Linked DNA regions of Homo sapiens: all the other regions are linked to region 1. The links are contacts of gene promoters, found by promoter capture Hi-C in human tissues and cell types (Jung and others, 2019). All regions are on one chromosome and are shown on one strand. The core of a region is centred on a gene start or on the middle of the fragment in contact, and the rest is flanking DNA. Distances in the headings are between cores, read along the strand shown. Region 1 holds the start of CTBP2 (C-terminal binding protein 2). Region 2 has its middle 47 kb from the start of TEX36-AS1. Region 3 holds the start of LOC105378543 (a long non-coding RNA gene).

Region 1 (3,791 bases), core at 457-2,956:
GCGGCTGGGTTCGCGGAATGGCGGTCCCTGCGGCCTCCAAAGGCGGGACCTCAGACCCCTCCCACTCCTTTCCTGCTCGACATCTCAATCCAGCTCCTAATATCTCAATAGGGTTTTTAAACAAATCGATCCTAAGGGCTCAGTTCAGCCCACCCAGGGATTCTTGGAGGACGCACGCCGAACTCAGGGTAGTGAGAAGAGTTTGGGGGGCCCTGGGGCGCAGGGAGAAGACCCCACACTCCACGGCCACCAGCTCCCTTCCGGAGACGGCGCTCGGACGTCGCGGGTCACGGGCGGGGAATTTAGCCCAGGTGCTCGTTGGGCCGCGAGCGGCCGCTGGGCCTGGATTCCCAGGCTCGCTGTGCAGACTCCAACCTTGAGACGTCAGGACGGCGTGGGCTCCGGGCCGCCGCGCAAGCCCAGGACCCCGAGTCGCGGGCCCCCACGCCGCAGCGCGCCTCCCTCCTCGAGACCCGGGGCTCCGACCCAACACAGGGCTTCTCAAATGCCCCGGCGAGATCCAGGCAGCAAGAGGGAACCTTTTTTTTTTTTTTCAATGTGTAAGAATGTTTTGCTTCTTTTAGGGCACAGCACTGCTGCAACTTGCAGCACAGAGGGCCCTTCCCTGCGCACCCACAGCGGTCGCCGCCTCTCCGGCACGGTCTCCCGGATCTGGATTTGGGGAGCGCAAGTGCCCCCTGTGGCCGGCCCGCGCCTGACCCCGCGGGCCTGAGAAGGCAGAAGCGGCCGGTGCGGGGCACCAGGAGGAAGTTGGAGCCCGGGGGCCGGGAAGGGGGCTGGTTGGCGCCGCTGGCTGGGCGGGGCCCCATGGGACCGGGGCCACCCGGGGCTCGCGTTCCCCCACGTGGCCGGCTGCCCGGTACCCCACGTGGAAGGGGCGGAGGAGGATGAAGGGCCAGGGGAGCAGCGGACCCCGAGCCACCGCGACAGGACCTCGGCCCCTGCCACCGAGGCCCCCGCGCCTCCCGAGGGCCTCCCGGGCGGGGCCGGGCTAGGGAGTGCCCGCCGCGCCCGGCCCCTGGCCCTCCCGCCCGCCGCGCTTGTGTGCACTTTCGCGGAGCCACTAATCCCCCGAGAGAGCCGATTTGTAGTGAGGAGTATCTGAAGGGGGCGAGGCCGGCCCATGTGGGGTTGTGTCATTGGTTTGCAAAAAGAGACCCCGCCTTTGCCCCCCCCCCCCAAAAACAGGAGCGAGGAGTGAGCGAGCGGCGACCCTCACCTCGCCTCCCGCCTAGCTCCTGCGCAGCCAGCGGGTACCGGGAGCTGCGGCCAGCGCCGCTTCTTTCCTTTCCTTTTCTCTCCGTTTTCCTTCTCCTTCCCCGGAGGAGAAAACAAATAAAGAAGAGCAAATAGCCGGGAGGCGCTCGGCATCCAGGACGTTCCCTCCCCCGATCCAAGTTGGAATTAGCATCCTCTCGGGGGTGAGCGCGGCGCGGGGCGGGCCCGGGCCGGGGACCCCCAGCGCAGCCCCCTCTCGGCGGGCGGGAGGGCGCGGGGCCGGGACGCGGGGGGAATTGGGAACCGGGTGGGCGGAGGAAGGGGGTGGGGTGGGTGGGGAAGTAGGAAGAGGCTCGGCGGCGAGGGGAGGAGGTGGAAGGGAAGGGAGGGGTAGGGTGGGGAGGGGAGGGGAGCGGAGGGAGGGTGGGGAGGGCGGGAGGGGGAGGGGCGGGGAGCTGGAGAGATTAAGTTTTTGTGTGTGTGTCCCTGTGTGCGTGTGTCATTTTAAGGTGGCTCGGGAGCGGCCCGGAGGAGCCGGCGGCGGCCCGAGGAGCGAGGGACCGAACCGGGAGCCATGCCGCGCTGAGGGGGGGCCGCACAGCCGCCGCCACCGCCACCGCCGCCGGGTGGGGTGGGAGGGGCGGGAGACGCCGCCGCCGCCGCCTCCAGGGTGGGCGCCTTTCGCCGTGGACGCCGACCGTCCGGGACGAGGTAAGGGGGGCCCCGGGGGAGGGCTGGGGCCGCCGCCGCCCCCGCCTCACCTGCGGCCGCGGGCTGGGGGCGCCGCGCCCGCGCCTCACTGCGCCACTCAGGGAGGAGGAGGAGGAGGAGGAAGAGGGCGAAGGACGCGGAGCCGGCATCCGAGGACATCTTTGGTCCGTGCCCCCGGCCTCGTGTCCCCCCTCGGCGCCCGGGGGTGGACGCTGGCTCGGGGGTCCCCGCCCGCCCCCGCCACCGATTGCGCCCGCTGGCCGCCGTTTGCGCCAGGATTTTTGTTGTTGTGATGAGAGTTGATGAATGCGAAGTAGGCGGTCACCTTCCTTCCCATCAGGGTTGAAAAAAAAAAAAAAAGAAACCCCGAGCGCGGCGGCGTCCGGAGGGCAGCGGCGGCGGCGGCGGCGGCGTCTCGGCGACGGTTCCCTGGGCGCCCCCGGCTCCTGCTCCCTGAGCCCGGTGGGTGCGCGCCCGGGGGCCGCCGGCGACCCAGGCCGAGCGCGCGACGCGCCGCGGGGACAATACGGCCGGATCTCCGGGGAACAGGAGTCCGAGCGCGCCGGGGTGCGGCGGGCCTTGCGCCTACGAGGCGAGGGTGGGGGGGGCGCGGAGAAGAGGGGTTCCGTGGGGAAGTCGGGGCGTGAGCGGCTCTCGGTCCCCAGGGGCGCTGCCCCTGCCGGCGGGGGATCCCGCGCGGCTCCCCGGGAGCGCAAGTGAAAGACGGGAAAGGAGGCGAAGTGGAACCCTTTTGTTTTGCCGGCCCCGCATTGTTGGCTCCTCCGGGCAGCCGGGCCACATCTGCTGCCGCTGCCGCCGCCGCCACTGCCGCGCGGGGCTCGGCCCGCCAAAGTCGCGGCGGGGCGGGGGGCCTGGGCGGGCCGGGCGGCGGGCGCGGGCGGGGGCCGGGCGGGCCGGGCATTTCCTCTGCCCGGCCGCGCTCCCGCGGGCACCACTTCCTCCTCGCCCGCCGCCGCCGGGAGCCCGGCCCGCCCGCCTCCCCCACCTTCCCCGCCCGGGCCGCACTTTTCGGGTGGGGCGAATCAAAAAGAAAAAGTTTAGCAGGAGGGGCTGGCTAGGGCGCGCCCCGGGCGGCAGGGACCCGGTGCGGCGCAGGGACAGCCGGGCCGCCGCGGTTCCTCCTCCTCCCAGCCCTCCGCGGCGCCGGACGGCCCCGCGCGGCCGAGGGGAAGCGCCTTTCTTTCTCTCCCTCGCGCTGCCCCCAGCGCCCCGGGCGAGTTGGGCAGAGGCGCGCGGGAGCCGGGGCGTGCCTGGGCCTTTCTCCCGCGGGAGGCCCAGCGGCGTGGCGGGTCGCCTGCAGCCCACGCCGCGCCCTGGGGCTCGGAGGCCGCGGGCCCAAGAGCTCAGCTCGGTCACCGCGGGCCGCGCCGAGACACACACGCGCGCACACACTCCCTCCCGTGGCTCGCTTTCCGCCGGCGACGACGGTCGCGGACACGGAGTGAGCGTGTGCGCGCGAGTGTTTGTGGTTGTCCCCCCTCCCCCCGCCCGGTACTTTTTCCGGAGGCGGCCCAAGCGGCAGTTGGCTGCAGAGGACCCCACGTTTAGGATTTTATAGGGAAGAGGAGGAATTTTTCGTAGAAATCCCCGCTCTGCGTGCTCGTGGTGGAGGCTGCTGGCAATGGCCTACGTCGTCATACCGGGCTTCCTTGCCCTGTCCGGGGTAAACAATCCTTCTGTGTATTTACCCCCTTTTTTCTTTAAAGATTGGAGATCGGGTTAAGTTCTTAGAGAGTCTGATGCGAGTGGCTGGAAGGATAGACAAGAGAATTCTATTCTATAAATATGCATTGGGAATTTAAAATGCTAAACGCCTTATT
Region 2 (3,791 bases), core at 740-3,239, 460 kb before region 1:
CACCTGGCCACTCTGGGCTCCTCCTGCCTCTAAGTCAACAGGTTAAGAAGAGAGTTCCAGTGTTGGTTGGGGTGATTGACCTGGACTATCAAGATGAAATCGACTACTACTCCTCGATGAAGGTAAGGAAGAGTATGTGTGGAGCACATGAGATCCCTCTGGGCGTCTCTTAGTACTACCATGCCCTGGGATTAAGGTCAATGGCTCTACGACCATACCACACTGAATCCATCCCATCTCGTCTGATCTTGGAAGCTAAGGCCAATGGGAAACTACAGCCTAATCCAGGCAGGAACAAATGACCCAGACTTTCAGGAATGAAGGATCACAGTACCAGGTGAAAAATCATGATCAGCCAAGGTACTTGCTGAAGGCAAAGGGAGTACAGAATGCGTAGAAGAAGGTAGTCATCAATAACAGCTATGACCACGTGACCAGTTGTAGAAATGAAGACTGTAATTGTCATGAGTATTTACTCCTTATTTTGTTAAAAATATGTTTGTGCATGTATACACCTGTACTAAGGAAATATCTTCATTTTATTTCTTTTCTTTTTCCTTTATCATGTAACATAAAATTTATTGACTTCATATCAGCATTTAAGCGTTGTTTGTCTTAGCATTTAGGTTAAGGATTAGTGTGCTTCTTGTTGTACGAAGGATAGCTGTATTATGTTAGGCATAATTACGACCTTATTATTGTCTTTATGTGGAGATTAAGTATGATTTCAGGACATGTGTATGGGTGCCCAGTTGACAATGGGTAGACTTGTGATGGTTAATATTAGGTGTCAACTTGATTGGATTGAAGAATGGCTACATGGGTGGTAGAGTATTGTTTCTTGGTGTGTTTGTGAGGGTGTTGCCAGAGGAGATTGGCATTTGAGTCAGTGGACTGGGAGAGGAAGACCCGCCCTCAATGTGGGTGACAGCATCCCATCTGCTGCCAGTGCGGCTAGAACGAAGCAGGTGGAGGGAGTTGGGATGATCTGGCTTCCTGGGTCTTCTGGCTTCCTTCTTTTTCCATGATGGGTGCTTCCTCCCACTCCTCCTGTCCTTGGACATCATACTCCAGATTCTTCAGCCTTTGGACTCTGGGACTTGAACCAGTGGCTTCTGGGGGGCTCTTGGGCCTTTGGCCACAGATGGAAGGCTACACTGTTGGCTTCCCTGGGTTTGAGGCTTTCAGACTTGAACTGAGCTACTGCTGGCTTTTCTCTTTCCCAGTTTGCAGATGGCCTATCGTGGGACTTCTCTTTGTGATCATGTGAGTCAATTCTCCCTAAAAAACTCCATTTTATACATACATATATCCTATTAGTTCTGTCTCTCTGGAGAGCCCTGACTAATATAAGTGGAAAAGGCAATATCAAAAATTACACACTGGGAAGATACACACCACACCAGCACATGAAAACATGTCACTAATCATTAGGGACATGCACATCAAAAGCAAAATGAGATATCAGCTCTCATCTGTCAGGATGACTACTATTAAAAAAAAAACAGAAAATGCCAAGTGTTGGTGAGGATGTGGAGAAATTGGAGCCCCTGTGCTCTGCTGGTGGGAATGTAAAATGGTGTGACTGCTTAACACACGATGGCTCCTCAAAGAACGAAAAATCGAATTACCACATGACTCAGCAATTCCGCTCCTGGGTATATATCCAAAATATTCTTTGGATAGCTATTCTATATACTCAGAGTGTATATATCCCCAAATAATATTTTGAATATATACCCAGAAGATACTTGCAGGTATTTGGGGATACTGTATCTGTATACCCATTTTTATAGCAACACAATTCACTACAGCCAAAACATAGAAATAAGTGTCCATTGATGGATGAATGAACACACAAAATGTGGTCTATCCATACAATGGAATATTATTTAGCTTTAAAAAAGGAAGGAAATTCTGACACATGCTACAACATGGATAAATCTTGAGGATATTATATTAAATAAAATAAACCAGCCACAAAAACACACATGCTATATGATTCTACTTAATTGAGGTTCCCAGAGTAGTCAAATTCACAGAGATGGAAACTGGAATGGTGGTTGCCAGGTTCTGGGGGAGGGAGGTCTGAGGAGTTACGGTTTAATGGGTACAGATTTTCAATTTTGCAAGATGAAAATGTTCTGGAGATGGGTTGCATAGCAATGTAAATAAGCTTAACACTACTGAAGTATATATTTAAAAATAGTTAAGCTGACACATTTTATCTTATGTGCATTTTACCACAATTAAAAAAAATTGACTTGTGATTGCCTTCTGGCAGCAACTGTCACTGGCTCCAGCTAGTGTTCTGGCCTGGGGTGTGTTGTGAGTCCTTGACTGTATCTTCCTGATCCCTGTTTGCCATGGTCTGACAAATCAATGCTCAACACATCTTCACTGAATGTCAGAGGGAAAGAGGGAGACAGAGAGAAAGGGAAGAAGGAATGAACAGAAAACTCACAAAAGATAAATTACAAATGGACAGTAGCCAAATGAGGAAATGTTCAGCTTCACTAGTAATCAAAGAAAAGGCCATTAAAGCAACAATGAGTTTCCATTTCTCTTGACAAAATGAGCGAAGATTTTTATTATTATAATTTAAAACCTAGTGCTCGCAAGGATTTGTTGAGATGGGTAACTTCAGACAGTGCTTGTACATTTCTGGAAGGAATGTAGTAGTATATCTCAGCAGCCCTGTAAATGTTCATAGCTTTTGACCCAAGTAGGACAAATCCTAGGGGACTGACAAGATACTCAGACAAAGATTTAGGGGCAAAGATGCATGTTACAGAGTTACTTAAAACAGCTCAAAGAGCAAAGCTAAATACCTGGCAAAATAGAGAATGCTTAGGTACAAGATGCAACATTATGTAGCTACTAATAAATCATATTTTACAAGAATATTTAATGATGTGAAAAATTTTTACAATGATACATGCACCTAGGTGATATATAGATGTATATATATATATGCACACATATATATATATATTTATAAATAAATAGTAAAAAATGGTCGGGCGAGGTGGCTCACGCCTGTAATCCCAGCACTTTGGGAGGCGGAGGCAGGTGGATCATGAGGTAAGGAGTTCAAGACCAGCCTGGCCAATATGGTGAAACCCCGTCTCTACTAAAAGTACAAAAATTAGCTGGGCATGGTGGTGTGCGCCTGTAATCCCAGATACTCGGGAGGCTGAGGCAGGAGAATTGCTTGAACCTGGACCCGGGAGGCGGAGGTTGCAGCGAGCCAAGACAGCGCCACTGCACTCCAGCGTGGGCTACAGAGCGAGACTCCGTCTCAAAAACAAACAAACAAACAAAAAACAAATTACTTCACCATCTGAGCTTTCAAAAAGTGCTTGGAGACACAAAATGATGAGGCATAGTCCGTGTTCTCAAGGAGCAGACGGCATGGTGGTGGAGACCTCTACTATGAGGAGAGGGGAATGTGGGTGGTGGTGTTGGGGCAGGGACCAGGGATGGAGCCCTGCAGAGGTGGTGCCTGCACGGCTTTGAAGGATTTGCACCCTTGCCTCTGCTTCCCCTGAACTTGGTGGTGGTGCCTCCTGTTGATTTTGTTCTTTCCCGCCATTGCTTGCCTTCAGTGCTCTGTTTCTGTGATAGGTTTACAGTGCTTTAGGGTTTATTTTCTCCACGATCTGTCTTGGTGCAACTCAACCAATAACGGATATTCTCCAAGGCTTTATTTTTATTTTTATTTTTTTATTTTTATTTTTTTGAGATGGAGTCTCGCACTTTCACCCAGGCTGGAGTGCAGTGACGCGATC
Region 3 (3,791 bases), core at 894-3,393, 330 kb before region 1:
ATGAGAGTGATAGAGCTCTGGGCTGGGGTACAATTGAGTGACACACTCTTCCAAGTCCTCTTCCTCCACCACAGAGCACAATTTCATAAAGGTTTTGGCTTGCATTATAGGTAAGACAGCACTGTGAGGTGGGGTGGGGTGGTGGGGGTGATGAGAGATGATGTTTGAGCAGGGAGGAAGAGTAGAGGTGGGCCAGCAGACAGATGGGGGTTGGAAAGCCCAGGGCACATCTACTTGGGCAAAGCAGAATCTTATAGTTAACCCATCCTCCTAGGCAGTTTGTCTTACTCAAACCAGTGTCGCAAAGTAGTTGTCCAGCCCCAGAAGTGAGATGTATTGTGGTAAATAAAACAGTCTCTGAATCCCTTTAGAACTCCACAGGGATTCCAGAATTCCCTTAGGCTTCTTCCAGATTGGGCCTTGGATAACTGCCCAGGTGGTCAGGCTTTTATCAGCTTCATCCTTCACCCACCATGAAAGGACACTTCCTGTTTGCCTCCTGTCATTCCCCAAGTCAAGGATCCCTCCTGCAAATGACCTGGCTCCCTCCAGGAGCATGGCCCAGGCCCCTGTGCTGGGCCTTATGGCCATAAAGGATTTCTGGGTCAGGAAGGGAGACTGCGGCCAGCTTCTCCTGCAACAGTGCAACTTGGGCACAGTGGCAGCAGCTCCACGTTGGGTCGCTGGAGACCCACACAAAATGGCTGATGGATAATGACAGCAGGTAATGGTGCCAGGGGATGGCAGCTGAGTAATAGCCACTGGGTAATAGCTTCAGGGCAATGGCTGCAGGGCAATGATTGCTGGGTAATGGTTGCAGGGCAATGGCTGCTGGGTAATTACTAAAAGGCAATGGCAGCCAGATAATAGCATAATGGCTACTGGGTAATGCCTATGCTCGCTGGCATACATGCAGCCCGGGTCAGCTGCCAGGTGGGGTGGGTGGGGCTTATTTCCTCCTGGGGCACATCCTTGGTGAATGTCCACCCTCTGCAGAGCTGCTAACTGAGCCCTCAATATGCTGGAATCTGCAAAGGAAACATGGCCGATTCTAGGCAGTGAACCAGCTCCCTCTTTCCTTACCTGGCATTCGCATCACCACACTTTCCAGTGTGCTTCCCTGTGAGCTTTTCACCATCCCTGTCCCTCAACCAAAATTCATCTCAACCAAAATTCAAACTGAGTCATGCAAACATGTATTTTTCATTTCTGTCCAAGCAACTATTTATAGTCTCATTAACAAATTTTAAGTAATATAAGTAAATGTTACCCAGATAATCTTAAAGCCTTCATCTCACTCAATAAACATCTAATGAGAAATGAAAACTATGGATATTCTGTCAATACAGGTTGTTATGTAAATCTTCTGTCTAGTTTTTTTGTTTGTGTTTAAGAAAAATATTTGTTGGTGTTATAATTATTGTTAAATACAAATATTTAGGACAAGGTAAATGCATAAAATTTAGAAGTAGTTGCCCAGAGATAAAATTATTTGCCAAAGCTTTCATAACTAAGAATAGGAAAGGCTAGAATGATATCCTGGGTATTTTATTTGTTTTCCCACACAGTGCTTTCATGTCCCCTCCTGGTATCTGTCAGAATTTATAAATACCAACTGCAAGTTCAAGCATTATTTTCTAAATCAAAAAGTGAAATCTTTTTGGAGGAAGCTCAAAGGCTGTGCCTTGATTAGCATAGACAACTAGATTAGAACCACTGGCTGTAACTTGGAGCAAAATCTTGCAATTTTATTCTTGTCACTCCCTGGGGAGCAATTGCACTTGTGGGTGCATTGCACTCTGGCCTCCTTTGATCTCTTTATTCAGACCTCCTGTTTACTGCATTAAAACAATTCACTTCATTCATCAGCCAGTCTTTCTTTGTTCATTAGATCGAATTATTATTATTATTATTATTATTATTATTTTGGTTAAGGGCACAAGGAGGTGCATTTGGACTCATTTCTGTATCCTCTGTCACAGATTAAATTTTATTTTTTCCATCTTTTGAAAGAGTTGTGCTGTGGAGATTTCCTAGACTAAGTAGTGTGCTGATTTTCTTTTCCCTGCTCTCATCCCTCCTATTGGATGCAGAGTCGAGTTTCCTTGTTATCATTCTTGTAACCAAAAAAGCAAAGATGATCTCTTTGGAGATGTTTGGAGAAGCTGGGGATTCCATTTTCTAGCGATGGGGTCAAGATGTTTGGATTGGTGACAATATGTGTCCATCCTGTTCCAATTCTGTCTGGAGTAGGGAAGATTGCCTTTTCTTTCTCTTCCTTGCTATGCTGTTATTTGTCAGTCTTCTGAAGCTAGAAGGTGATGCTGTTTAGCATGTAAATAAAGCAACACTTTTTCCAGTAAATAGCTCTGTCTAGCATTATATGCCAGGAGCTCTCATCCACACAATGATGAATTCAATTCCTGCATTGTGCTTTCCTTTCCTGTCCTTTCACAGAGGGAAAGGTGATCACACTGTAATTATATAAATCCCTTTTACTTTATTTTTTCTGATTGTGCCTCTAATTTTCCTAGTCTCGTCATAGATAGCATTTCGCCTTGCTAATATAAAATTTCTGTGGCAGTCTTTGTGAATTAATTTACTTCCTATAGTCCAGTGTTTTATAGATGATGTAAATGAAGGATATGGCTTGCAGATCTATTTAAAGAGACGTGCTTATACTTCACTGTTTTGGCCAGATGAGTGGGCACATGCTTTTGCGTTTTTATTTGAACCCCCCCGAAGTTGGTCATTATATTTTGAATGCCACAGCACGTCTATACCATTATTTAAAGGATCTTGTTCATTCATCCATATAATGATTGGCATTGGCTATAACTTGATGCAATGTTACACTATTTTAATTCTTTCTCAGGCAATGTTATCTTTGATCGCTTCCTATTCACTGGGAAAAAAAACCCCACACAATTGCAATCCCACACTATGTTTCAGTGATGATGCCAAGTGCTCCCTGGAATATAGCTATTCAAGACAATTTCTCCACCCTCAGGCTGCTCATTAAAGGGATGGCAGTTTCTAACTTTAATGAATAAGGTAGAGTGAAAATTCCACTCTTCTTTGAAAGAGACTCCGTGGTTTTCCTTTTTAAAGTGTTTTCTGCTGCCTATTTCTTTGTTTAATTGGAAATGGTGTACACTCCTCCATAACCATGGCCACAACTCAATATGCAAAGTATTTCCTTGTCACATTTCCTTTTTTGTGGTTCAAGTGTGTATTTTATCAAAGAATTCCAGAAAAAGCTTTGTATCTTTCCCCCAAAAAACACGCCATTGATTACGTATAGTGCATCTAGATTGTCATCTTGTCCATGGGTAGAGTTACTCCTATATTTTGGGGATTTTACCTCCCTTCTTACCAAATACTGATTTAATATGTTCTTTTAACCCAGGGACATTCACGGCAGCTCCAAGTCCTCATTGAAAAGTTTAGCAAGAAAGAGCCAAGTAAGAAAGAATGACAGGGACCAGTGTTTAGGAAATGCTGCCTTCTTTTCAAAATCCAGTAGCCCCAAACCCAGCCAAACTTGAGTTCCTTTCTGTGTTTTAAAGGCATAAATTCTCTTTCTTCTTTTTACATAAATGAAGTCTAAAAATTTCTATTTATCTCATAGCGAATCACAACCATAAAGCAGGACTCAAAGTATAGGAGGGATTTTAATATTTTAAGACAAGTTCTGGGAGATTCAGTCACATCCCAGACTTACTGTGTTGGTGTAGGAGCAAGCAGGTCTGCATCATGCTAGGTCTTGGAGACTTTCTTTCCTTAACTTC

What was found. The method cuts DNA at HindIII sites, captures the fragments that hold promoters and counts their contacts. A contact is called where the count stands out against the background at its distance.
Region 2: a fragment that was not itself captured here is called in contact with the fragment with the promoter of CTBP2 in region 1 in 1 of the 25 tissues and cell types used here (spleen).
Region 3: a contact is called between a fragment that was not itself captured here and the fragment with the promoter of CTBP2 in region 1, in 1 of the 25 tissues and cell types used here (dorsolateral prefrontal cortex).

Annotation. Positions count from the first base shown.
Region 1 is chr10:125,158,478-125,162,268 of GRCh38, reverse strand. CTBP2 (C-terminal binding protein 2) reads left to right here and starts at 1,706. Exons shown (of 11, transcript NM_001329.4): 1 at 1,706-1,950. RefSeq lists an enhancer at 326-935. The HindIII fragment of the contact is 19,174 bases long and covers 1-3,791 here.
Region 2 is chr10:125,619,081-125,622,871 of GRCh38, reverse strand. It overlaps a transcript of TEX36 not described here. Among named protein-coding and RNA genes, the nearest start is that of TEX36-AS1, 47 kb to the right of the region's middle. The HindIII fragment of the contact is 3,522 bases long and covers 229-3,750 here.
Region 3 is chr10:125,490,773-125,494,563 of GRCh38, reverse strand. LOC105378543 (a long non-coding RNA gene) reads left to right here and starts at 410. Exons shown (of 3, transcript XR_007062331.1): 1 at 410-724. LOC124902521 (a long non-coding RNA gene) reads right to left here and starts at 417. Exons shown (of 2, transcript XR_007062332.1): 1 at 289-417. The HindIII fragment of the contact is 3,548 bases long and covers 370-3,791 here.